2 separate regions of the Homo sapiens genome follow, and region 1 is linked to region 2. The links are contacts of gene promoters, found by promoter capture Hi-C in blood cells and fetal thymus (Javierre and others, 2016). All regions are on one chromosome and are shown on one strand. The core of a region is centred on a gene start or on the middle of the fragment in contact, and the rest is flanking DNA. Distances in the headings are between cores, read along the strand shown.

Region 1 (5,761 bases), core at 3,062-5,561, 280 kb before region 2:
CATTTTTAGATATCATATGTAGTTCTTATTACAACCCCAAAATAGGAATTATTAGATTCTTCAAATCCAGTCTTTATACGATTTCCTGAGAAACCACTCCAAAAACATTACCCCAAAACACATAAAGAGTACTTTATCTTTCAAAATATTCTATTTGCAACCTCACAGTTCCTTCCTAATAGTTGTCCACTATAATTAAGCCAAAGAAAAAAGCTCATGTTCACTGGCTTATCTAATGTCTTAAGAGATACAATAAATTTAAAGGATTAGATATAATTAGAGAAAATTTGATATAACAATAAAGATTCCATGCCCATTTTCAGAGAATATTCAAGTTGTCTATATATCTACTCAGTGTTTTTCCCCAGCAGTTACCTGGTTTCCAGGGTACCAGCTAAGACCATCATTAAGAAGAGAAAGAAGATGTGAAATAAGTAGGTACAAACTACATTAAGATAAAGGTCTGGACAAATCAACGCATTTCTTTCAACAGAATCAGATACCAAGGGCAATTGCTTCTGACAAATAATAGTTCACAGGTCTTCTTTGGATATTTAAAAAAAAAAAAAAAAAAAACATTTACAAGAGATCACAAAAATAAGACAGAACAATTTTATAAATCTTTTATTTAGTAGGCATTGTTTATTCCAGCTTGTAAAGTTCAGTAGTGCTTGATGTAAGTTTTTAAGCCTGTGGATGAACGTCTTAGCTTAATGCTCCAGGTACACTGGGATAAATGGGAAGTGAGCTTATTAATAGACTTGCTAGGCTTTCCCTTTCAAACACATATTTAGAAAGACAGAAATTGATTATGTTCCAAAGACCAGTATCAAAGCACTATAAAATAATATTCTATACCAACCAGTTTGATTTCAAGTTATTCATAAGATTTTAGAGTGTGTATAAACAAGTATGTGTATGTGTACATGTGTATATACATGACACCTTGTTTTTAAAAATGGGTGTGGATTTTGCAATTTTTACAAAACTACCGTAAATAACACAGACATCCATTTTAGAGTGATCAAATCTCCTCCAAATGAAAGTTTCTCTCTGATGTCATACTCCGCTTGACCATGAAATGAAAATGGCTTCAAACTGTTCTTAATTGTGAAATTAAAAAATAAAGAGACAGAACGCATCACCTCTTGCACCATAAGATCCAGGAGGATTATGGATCCTAGTAAATCCAGGATTATGAAGAGGCCTCCAAGGATAGACAGCCTAAATGTTTAGGGCTCTCCCATTGGACCTTTAAACTAGGGTGATGTGGGGAGATAAGGTTCTCTTCTACACGTCACAATGGCAGACTGAGTACCAGTTAAAGAACAGAAATGCCACTGTCATTGTTGGTGCTTTTTATCAAAAGGCTCAATTTCTCTATCTGCTAAAGCTTGGCAAAAAGCTAGCTGGCTAAAAGAATAAGCGAACTGATAGAAATATTTTAATTCTGTAATAATTTTTAAAAATCGATTTAAATATTATCTCACTCAAAAACCTAAGATTTACTGAATTGGGGACATGCTGGTATATATTTGCTATTGAATTTGTTCTATATTCCAACATACCCCTCGCCAAAAACACAACCTAAAGGAAAAGAAAAAAGAAAGAACGTAGCTCTCTAAATCATAATAACCTACTCAATACTAAGGAGTACAGAGGGTACAATCCATGCCACCTAGAAGACAGCTAGACAGCCACCGTAGCCAGTAGATGGGCCCTGATATATTAAACGTGGTCAATATCAAGTTCTCATCAAAAAGGACAAAAGAGATGATTTCCATTGCTGCCACGCGTTATTCCACCAGGATGTACTGACAGTACTTAAGCATAAAACCCTATTAAACATAACCTACCACTGCAAAAAATATCATATTTGGCTCCTATTTAATATACACAATAAGTCCCTTTTTGTGTGGTAAAAACAAACTACCTGAAAATAAATCTAAATGGCCATAACCTGGAAAATAGATCATCTGAAAGAAAATCAGCCATCAAAGGTATATCATGGCTTCTGTTAGGTAATGGGGAAAAAGGAATCATTGCGAACCTAATCAACCAGCTTCACCCCAACGACTGCCTTCTTTCTGCCCCCATCAGATTTCCATCTGGACGCCATTCGCCTTTTGGAATCCTTAATGAAACAATGAGTTCGGAGTCCAGAGAAAACAGAAAGGGTTAGGATCCCGACAAGGTAATCGTTTTCTTCTCTCCGGTTTTTGTAGGCCATCTTGTTCGAATAAACGCCAAGATGTCTTAATTTTCCCCAGGTGGTGTCACTGGAGGCAACGCCCACTGACAGTTTTGAGGCCACCTTCCCTTAATCAAATGACCAAAAAAGATCTGTCAAACGGTTAATTGATGCAAATTAAGAAAGCCACCCTCACTGCAGTAAGATATGTTACAGGAAAAAGAACAATGAACAGTACTAGAAAGGAAAATAACAGTGTGCGGGTACAAAATATTTAATCCACAATTTGCCTTCATCCTCATCAAGGCAAATCTTAATTTTGGTCAATTGAAATCAGCAAGAAAGCAAAAGATGAGAGACAGCCTGGAAAAGAAGAAACACACACACAGGCGGGAAAAACTGTCATTGGTGTCCAAGGGTTTCCCGCAACATTTAGGGCAAACGCCTTTGTTCCTCGGCTCGGGAGGGGAGTGGGTGGCTGGATGATGGAGATGGGATGGGGCTGCCGGGCCCTCCACACCCTGCTCTCCGGCGCATGCGCGAGGCCAAGACAAAGGAATAGGTAATTACAGTCCCGATTCATTCATTTTGCCTGCAGTATACTGGGGGTCTGTTGGCCCGGGCTGTAATCCCGGGAGGTGGGGGTGGGGGGTCGGTCCACAACCCTATAGCAGAAGGCCATTTCGACGCTAGTGTTGGGTTTTAGCCCGCCCCACAGTGCGAGTGGCCGCGGGGGAGACAGAGGTGTTGTCAACCTGTACAAGGTCCTAAAAAATGCACCCATGTGTGCTGTGCTAATTTCAGCAGAGTGAGAATTACATGGGCAAGGGCTGTCCACCGAGTTCGTTTCAAGGCGGAAATGTCTCTGGGGACGCAGATAAGGAGCCTGGCCAAGCGTTCGATGAATATTCATGAAAAGAATGCGGTTTGCAGCCGCGCATTGTGCGTGCGATCGGATCCAGGATTCCGCAATTTTTATTTTTCTGGAAATGGAGGGGGGACGGGGGCGGGGGGAGCAGGAACCGGGCGCCGGGTTTCAGCTTTAGCGCTTTGGGCAAAAGCTGCTCAACCCCAACCCTACGCTCCCAGCGGGGCTGAGCCCAGTTAGGGCCGCGCGCTGTCAGGTTCAAGCCCACACCCCCCGGGCCCGGGCCGGGGCCGGGACCCAGGGCGGAGGCGCCTGGCGCATTCTTGGAACCAAAGGCTCGAAAAAACAAACTGCTCCGAGGCAGCCCACGGGTTCGTAGGAAGGCAATTCCGCCACTGACGAGGCTGGGGCTCCGATCTGCTCGGGAGGTGCTTCTGAGTGCACGTCGCCGTGTGAACCTCGTATTCCTTGGCCCCAGAACCAAGATCCAGGAGTCCCATGGGTCGAGAAAACCCGTTTGCCAAAGCAAAAAGCCACCCACTTCCTTCTGATCGGGCCAGATTCCCCATCTTCTTTCTCCCCGGACTCCCGCCCCACCCCACCCCCACCCTCCATCTTTGGCTGCTGCGCCCCTCGCCCCGAGCGCTTTCTCCCAGGCTGGTAAGGGCTCCGATGACGGAAGCGCTCCCTTCAGCCCACAGAACCGTCTCCCCGGGACTCAACGCACTGAGGGGGTTTCGCATTCGGCAATTCCTCCCGTCACCCGCAGCTCCTCTCCCCGACAGCCCCCTCCCCCCAGCTCCGTTTACCAACCTCGCCGCCCCCCTCACCCCTCCACCATGCGAGCGGCTGAAGCCTCCCACTTCTGGGCCCCCCATCACCCGGGATCCCCGAAGTGCGACGGAGCCCTCACAGAGGGACCCCAGGCCCTTGCCGTCCAATCCGGGCCCACATCCCTGCTGCCCGCTGCATGAAGGGAGAGCCCGGGGGCTGCGGGGCGGGGCGCGGCGCGGTGGGGGACGGAGGCCCCCGGGTCCGCGGCGGCGCGGGGCCACCGGGCGCGCCTCCTTACCGGCTCTGGGTGCCTATGCAGCCCCTGAGTTAGCGCGGTGCCGCCGAGAGGCCGGGGTCGCTGGCGTCGTCTGGCTGGTGCCTGGCCGCTGGCGGAGGCTCTCTCCCGGCTCGACGGCGGAGCCCGGAGCGAGGAGCCAGTTGGAGCGCTGCCGCCGCCGTCGTCGCCGCTGCCGCTACTGCCGCCGCCGCCGCCGCTGCAGCCTCTGCATTTCTCGCGCTCGCTCCCCCTCCCCTTCCTGCCCAGTGCCCTCCCCCCGCGCGTCCGCCCGCCCAGCCTCCCTCCTCCCGCGCTCCCCGCCCGCCTCTCTCCCCTCCCTCCAGCCCGGCGCCCCGCCCGTCTCCCCTCCACCCCCTCCAGCTCCATCTCCCCACCCCCTGCACTCCCTCTGCTCCCCTCCCCTCCTCCGGCGCAGACCCTCCCCTCTCCCCTCCAGCCTGGACACGCCCGCCTCCCCTTGACTCCCCCCAGCTCTGGGCCCCCACCTCCCCTCCCCTCCAGCACAGTCACCCCCATTTCTCTCCTATCCGCCATCCTGGTTCCTCCCTTCCCCCCACCTCCCAACTCTGTGCCCCGCCAACGTTTCCTAAATGCCCTCTATTCAGATCCCCCCTCCGCCTCCCCTCTCCTCTCCTCCATTCCTGCGTCCCCCTTCCCCCGCCGCGCCGCCTGGGCTGTCCGTGGACTTCTCCCACTCTCTCACTCTCTCACTCACTCTCTCTCTCTCTCTCTCTCTCTCACTCTCTCTCTCTCTCTCCCCCTCATTTATTTGGAACCGTTGGATAAGAAGTGCTCGGGCTCTCGCTCAGACTTAGGGAGCTGCCTCGAGGTGATGAATGACACCCCCTGGCACCAGCTACCCTTCTCAGACCCCAGTCCAGCCCGCTCCCGACGTCGACTACGATTCCGCTACCTCGGCTGGCAGCGAGGTTGGGGTGAGCCCCAGCTGCAGGCGCGTCTGGGCTGCGCCGCTGCAAACGAGTTGCGCACCTTGGGCGGCTCCGCACCTGCACCCGCACCCGCGGGGCTCAGCCCCGAAGGCTGCAGCTTCGGGGGAGGCGCGGTCGCCGAGGTCCAGCTGGTGGGGCGAGAGACGTCGCCCCTCGGAGGATGCTCTCGGAACTTGGGAGAGGAAGGAGGGAAGAGAAGAGGGGAAAGGGGCCGTCGATGTTTTTGATGTCTGTGCTTTAATGGAGGCCACCAATATTGAGAAGACGGGGTTGGCCGAGGCAGCCCGCACGCTGCTGCTTGCGAGCGCTCGAGTCAAAGCTAGGGCCAACCGCGGCTTGTCCGGGTGCCCTAAGGGGGCGGACACTTGGTTTAGCACCGGGACACAGAATAGCCACCGGGGTAGGAAGATGCGTTCACTTTGCTTACCTGTTGGCAAGAGGGACATACAAAAATAACGTAACGTGACATCGTTGACAACGGTAGCTCTTTGATTACACAAAAGCCAATTTTACCTTCCCGCAAAAGCCAGTTGACGCCTTTGGAACTTTTATTTGCGGCATTTTGGCGCCCTCTGGCTGTGTTTGGATCGCTTTCATGCTCGCCTGCGTCCCAGCCAAGAAAAAATCGATGGAGCTGCAGGTTGTCCTCAGGATGGTTCTGCCCTCAGGACCTGGGCGTG
Region 2 (6,016 bases), core at 1,799-4,298:
CAAGACAAGGAATGGCAGCAGCAGCAACAACAAAAGGAACTCAGTTTGAATTCACAAAGGAAATGAGACAACCCGTTTCAACTAAAAACGAACAAACTGTTGGTGGAGAACAAAAACAGAAGATTGTTATTACTTAACTCACAAATATACATATGCAACTCTCTCTTTCAGTGGGGAAATGATCCAATCAGTATTAAAATTTTGTTGATTGTAGATTAATGTATGCCACTAAATAAGATAACTTAACTTGAGCTTTTGGGGGTGTTTTATTTTGAAAATGTCATACTCTGTTAGCCTGGTTTATTTGAAAGACAGGTAGGACAGAGAGTTGAGACAGACCTTTGCCTCATGGAAACACACTCATCCTTCTATTATTACCATTCTTGTGCCTCTGTCGCTTCTCAGAGGGCAGGGTTTAATAGATTTGGTCTAAACTGCTTTGTCCAGTGGTTAGCACAACTCTCTCAGAGGAAGCACTCAAATTTTAAGAAATGGTAATAAGACTAGATATTCTTAGAAATCTATTGATTTAAAATGCTTCCCAGTCTCTGTCCAATCCTGTCAAAGCCCTTATAAATTTAACACGCTGCTTTTTAACAACTGATTCAACCCCAGATACTTGAGGGTTAGATATCTTATTTAGAACATGCATTTTGCTGTTCAGCAAGTAAGAGTTTCGCTGCCACAGCTTATCTTACACCTTTTTGAGAATATGGGGATATATAGAAAAGCTGATGAATTCTGATAAAGTGGCGATTCCCAAGCTCTGAACTGGTTATCGGGGTGCTTATTAAAATGCAAATTCTTTCAATATAATCCACAGGTAAAGAAATAAAAAATGCAAATTCTTAGGAAATCAATTTGCCACAGAGATTTGGAGTCAGTTTTTTTTTCTTTTTAGCAACTGATAAGGTGATCTAGGGATCAACATTGATAAAACATTGATGTAAGTTTTTTTTTTTAACTTTCTTACCCTGTTAACTGATGATGTAAGCTTTTTGAAGAAATAAAATGATTCAGTAAAATCTAAACTTTATATATTGGATCTGGCTCACCATTCTTTACGTGAGTCAAATTGGGGGCAATTATTAACGATATCTTCATAATTGGCAGGAAAATCACCTTTAAAAGATTAGTAGACTTTAAAAAAACAGTTTTAGGCTTACATAAAAATTGGCCAGAAAGTACAGAGAGTGTCCATAGACCCCTCCCAGCCCCTCACCCTCACTTGCCCCTATTATTAACATGTTGCATTAGTGTGGTACATTTGTTATAACTGATGAGCCGATATGGAAAGTGACTTTTGAAATGACATGGCGAGGTTGCCCAACGTATCAGTGGCTGGGCTGATGCTGGGAACCACGTCACACCCACACACTCACTTCAACAATCTCCCTGGTAATTTCTCTGGCAGAGATGTTGTGTGCAGATTAATACCATAATGACTGTAATTGTTCTGCTCCAGTATCTGAACACCAGTGGTTGCAGGACCCATTTGACTAAGCACTGGGATTGTTGGTATTTATCCTGACTCCATCTTCACTTTCCTTGCGACCTTGGACACAAGCTTTAATGGCTCAGCGCCTTAAGCGTGTAAACCTGTGAAACAGAACAACATTGCACAATATCATTAACTAATTTACACCTTGACTCTTTCTAAAGGGAAGTGAGGTGGGAGCAATGATATTAATGGTGAAGAACTGGACTGGGATAAGTTACAAACATGCTTGACTTTCCCCATAAGGATTACAGAAGGATGTTTCATTCATTCATTCATGCTGTGAGACAGCCTGGGGATACTCATCTTAAAGCACAGTCCTTCCCCAACAGTCTTAGGAATAAATCCTAGAGTGGGCATCTAGCCCAGTGGTTACGGGGAGCTTGGGTGGGGTGAGTGGAGTAGCATCTTTGGGAAGGGTTCCTTCCCCTGGAAGGTGTGACTTTGTGAGCTGAGTTTTAAAGGTTGAGTAGCAGTTGGCAAATTCCCTGGAGAGAGCATCTCAAATCTTTTGTGCTGAAGAACCAGCCATTTTTGTTCCCAGTCGGCCAGGTACCAATACACTGCGGCGCCAGGTGTGACTCACCACGTGAGTCTGACAACACCCAAACTGGTTTATACTCGGTTCAAAGAGTCCACTGATCATGTGCTTGGATGTCGTGGCATTATTAAATTGCTACAAACGTTTACTCTTAATTTCTCTACTTGTTACAAGCTTTCGTTCAGCACAGGACCAGGTAGCACCTGAGGGGCACCTGGAAAGCAGATTGTTCCAGCCTGCGTTCTAACAAGGTTCCCAGGTGACCCTCGCACAGCATAAAGTTAAAAGAACTGCCCTAGGGGAAACGGGACTCAGTGCCAGGTGGGTTTGATCATTCGTCCATCTCAGTGCCATCTGCCATCTCTGCTTCCTTGAGGTCTAGAAAAGGGTTACATTTTTAAAGGTGATATTGGCCACGTCCCCTTCCAGTTTCAAAACTACATTTCCCCGCTGTTACGCAAACGTCTTAAGCAAACCCGACTGCAGGACAGAAAGTCAACACGGGAATGCAGCTTCCAGAAATTCTGATTAGCCTCCGTCTTCCGCTTTGATCTGGCCCCGCAGCCCCGGCAGCTCCGCTGACCGCGCTTCCTTCCCGAGATTGCTAGTCTACCGGGCTGCATTAATGAGATCCGTGTTGAGCCGGTTCCCGGGTCTGCTAAACATGAAAGGCACAGAAGCCCCCAGTCCCTTCTCCTCCCCTCTAAGTGATTGTTTAGTCTCTCTCTGCAGAGGGAAGAGTTAAATCCCCTCCCCACGCCTACGTGGGAAGACCTGGGGAAACACGCGGCCCCCTCCCGGGTCCGCTAACGAGCCTGCGGCTGCTTCGGGCTTAGAGTGGGCGGGGCCTGGTCGGGAAGGGGGCGGGGCGCTCCGCCCGGGCGGGGCCAGACGGTGTGGTTGGCGGAGGGCCAAGCTCCTGGGGGCGGGGCCGCGAGCGGGAGGGCGGGGCCGGCTGCGGGAGGGCGGGGCCGGCTGCGGGAGGGCGGGGCGAGGTCGCTGGGCTGTAGTCCCGCGGGCGAGAGCTGGCTGAGCCGCGGCGCGGGACTGCTCACCTCCAAGCGCTCGCGCGGGGATCGCGGCTCCTGCTCACTTTGCGGCCCGCTGTCCTCCTGCCCGCCCCGAGGGCCCCCGGCCGGAGCGCAGAGGGAGGGGGCCGCGCTCGCCAGCACCCCGCCGCCTTCCCCCGCCTGGGGGAAGAATGTGCCACCAGCTGTTCTCCGCTTGCGAGCGCTGCGCCCAGTAGTGAGGAACTTGGAGGAAGAAGAGACAAAGGCTGCCGTCGGGACGGGCGAGTTAGGGACTTGGGTTTGGGCGAACAAAAGGTGAGAAGGACAAGAAGGGACCGGGCGATGGCAGCAGGGGAGCCCCGCGGGCGCGCGTCCTCGGGAGTGGCGCCGTGACACGCATGGTTTCCCCGGACCCGCGGCGGCGCTGACTTCCGCGAGTCGGAGCGGCACTCGGCGAGTCCGGGACTGCGCTGGAACAATGGATAACTTCTTCACCGAGGTAAGTGCGCTCCCAGTCCGACCTGGCCTCCGGAGCCCAGGGAGAGAGGCGTCTGCCCACCACGCCGCGCGCCCTGGGTACTTTTTCCTAAGCCCTGGAAGGCGCAACTTTCTGGGAGTCTCCTGAAATCACCCCCCATCCCCCCGCGGAGTCTCTGATGAGTAAGCCCGGGCAGGTTTTGTTTCGTCCTGTCCCGCGCTCGCATTTTGCTCCGGGAGGTAGCGAAGGTGCGTTTCCGTTTGCGTGGGTGGCTGGCTCTCGGGGCGCCCTGGGACACCCGCGCCAGGTGAGGCGGCGCGCGCCGGGGCGCGGGCGGGGCGATCCGCCCGCTCGACTGCCCGGGTGCAGGAAGCCCAATAAAATGTTCAGCGGGGACCTGCCTTTCTCCAAGAAAGGTCTTGTCTGGTATTTCCTTTGCAAAACGTGCGGGCTTCCTGTGCAGGGGTTCAAACACTTCCAGAGGAGACGGCTTAATGAAGTGTGAGAAGGAGAGGCAAGGGTTTAATCGGTTACTTTGCTCGCCGAGAAGTGCTCTTTTAAGGCTTGGGATAACTCCAGACCCTGGGATCAAATGATCATGTATTTGTGTAGAGTGTCCATGCAGATTTTGAATTCGAATGTAAAGAAAATTCGTTTAGGGCAAACAGTGGCTATTTTAATAGATGAAACGGATGCCCTCTTTAGGGTCGTTGAGGGTGGGACACTGAAACTTAACTTGAGAACCCTTTTTCCCCCTTTGGGATCGAGACTTACTGTGGTTTCTTGGCTCCCTTTCCTTTCTTGGTTGTGTTTATTTAATAAATTCTGTTTAAGTTTGAGGTTTGAAGTGGCTCAAAGTAAACTTAGTTGACTTGAGAGAGTCTGATGTGATTTTCGTTGAAAGCCAGGGAATGTTTTCTGAGTGCAGAACCGCTTTGGAGTCTTCCAGCAAATCAGATTGATGAGGGCTTGCCTCTGTGTTAGCCGACTTGGTTTATCTGATTTAATTGGATATAATATTTCAAGTCATTCTGCTTTCTGCATGCTCACTGACTGTATTCTCAGACAGCTATTCATACTGGCCAAAGTGATAAATGCATTCTTGTTTAGTAGTCATATCTAGTTTTTAAAAGTGGTGTTTCAGATGTGATACCCACATTCATTGTGGAAGGAAGACTAGAAAGGAATTATCCATCAATACATATTTTTCCTTTTCTTAAAAAAAGTGAAATATATATAATTGTGAGACGCTCGCATTTTCTAGTCCATAGACTTTTGTTTTCATGCTTGTCGAAAGGCACCAGAACTTTCTGCAAGAGTTGCACGTTGTCCAGTGGTAAAGGACCCTCGGGCTACAGTGAGTTCCGGTGTTTAATTGCTTGCATCTGTAAGAAAACGGAGGCCCTGCCCCTAGGGCAATGATTCTTAACTTTGTTGTTTTTGTGTTCTGGGTCCCTTAGAAAATCTGATGAAAATATAGAAATTTGTATTCAGTTTGCACGGATCTCACTCCTCCTGTAGCCTGTCTGAGCACCACAGGGGTCCGTGGCTCCCCCTTGGGGAGAACTCTGCCCCCTAGTGCAAGTGGGGGGAACATCAGGATAACGCGCTACAGCGTCCTGATCTCCTGTTACCCGGTGAGACTTTGACTTTTCAAAGTACTCTTTTCATCTTGCACTGGATACCTTAGTTCAGTGTAAGGGGCCTGGTTGTTGGATTTTATTTCTGTGATCAATATTATTTTGCAGTTGGCCATTAGTGATCTTCTACTTTCTCCTCTTCATTTTGTAGACAGAATCTTAACCCAAAGATATGAGTAAGTCCCTTGCCCAGCTTTGAAGAGCTTGTTCACGAATCCAGAGCCTTTTTCCTTTGCTGCTGGTGACTTTGGTATTTCTGGGAACTTTTCGCTTATTTTAAGGTTATACTTTTAATCTTGTGATGTATGTGTATTACAATATTAACTTCTAATCAGCCGTGAAAGTTCCACCCTTAAATCTAATCACTTTGAGTGGGAAGGAAGCAGGGCCAGTCAGAGAGGTTAAATAGTGAGGTATTAATTGTAGACATACTCTTAACATAGATCCCAGCTCCCCTTTCTCTCTCTCATGTCTTGTAATGGAGCATCCTTTTGTTAAATTGTCCAGTGAAGAAAATGCTGTAATTAATGTCCTGTTAGAATAGAAACAGCGAGTGTGGAAGTGATATATTCCCCAAGGACAGCTAAATTGTTTGGCCTCCTTATCACTAAGTAGAATTCTGTCTTTGCTAACTTTTCCCATTGTGGCTTAGGGGTAAATGACTTGTTGCTTGTTGGACAACAGTTTAAAGCCAGTGCTAACAATTGGGGAAAAATTACTGAATGAGATGTTGCCTGTTTAGCTTTGTGTATGAATGGCCAAATAATAAGGAAATGGGAGCTGCTTGTGATTCGCAACTGCTATTTCTAGCTAGACCAGGGTTTCTCAAACCTGGTACCATTGCTGAGT

Evidence for each region. Contacts are between HindIII fragments. The CHiCAGO score rates a contact against its expected background, and 5 or more counts as called.
Region 1: a contact is called between the fragment with the promoter of BASP1 here and the fragment with the promoter of MYO10 in region 2, in 1 of 17 cell types (erythroblasts). The highest score is 5.6, in erythroblasts.

Annotation. Positions count from the first base shown.
Region 1 is chr5:17,216,181-17,221,941 of GRCh38, reverse strand. BASP1 (brain abundant membrane attached signal protein 1) reads right to left here and starts at 4,311. Exons shown (of 2, transcript NM_006317.5): 1 at 4,132-4,311. BASP1-AS1 (BASP1 antisense RNA 1) reads left to right here and starts at 4,520. Exons shown (of 3, transcript NR_027253.1): 1 at 4,520-5,761. RefSeq lists an enhancer at 2,411-3,191 and silencers at 3,226-3,545, 4,036-4,515. The HindIII fragment of the contact is 5,505 bases long and covers 1,396-5,761 here.
Region 2 is chr5:16,933,320-16,939,335 of GRCh38, reverse strand. MYO10 (myosin X) reads left to right here and starts at 3,048. Exons shown (of 41, transcript NM_012334.3): 1 at 3,048-3,548. The coding sequence starts at 3,528. The HindIII fragment of the contact is 4,395 bases long and covers 2,216-6,016 here.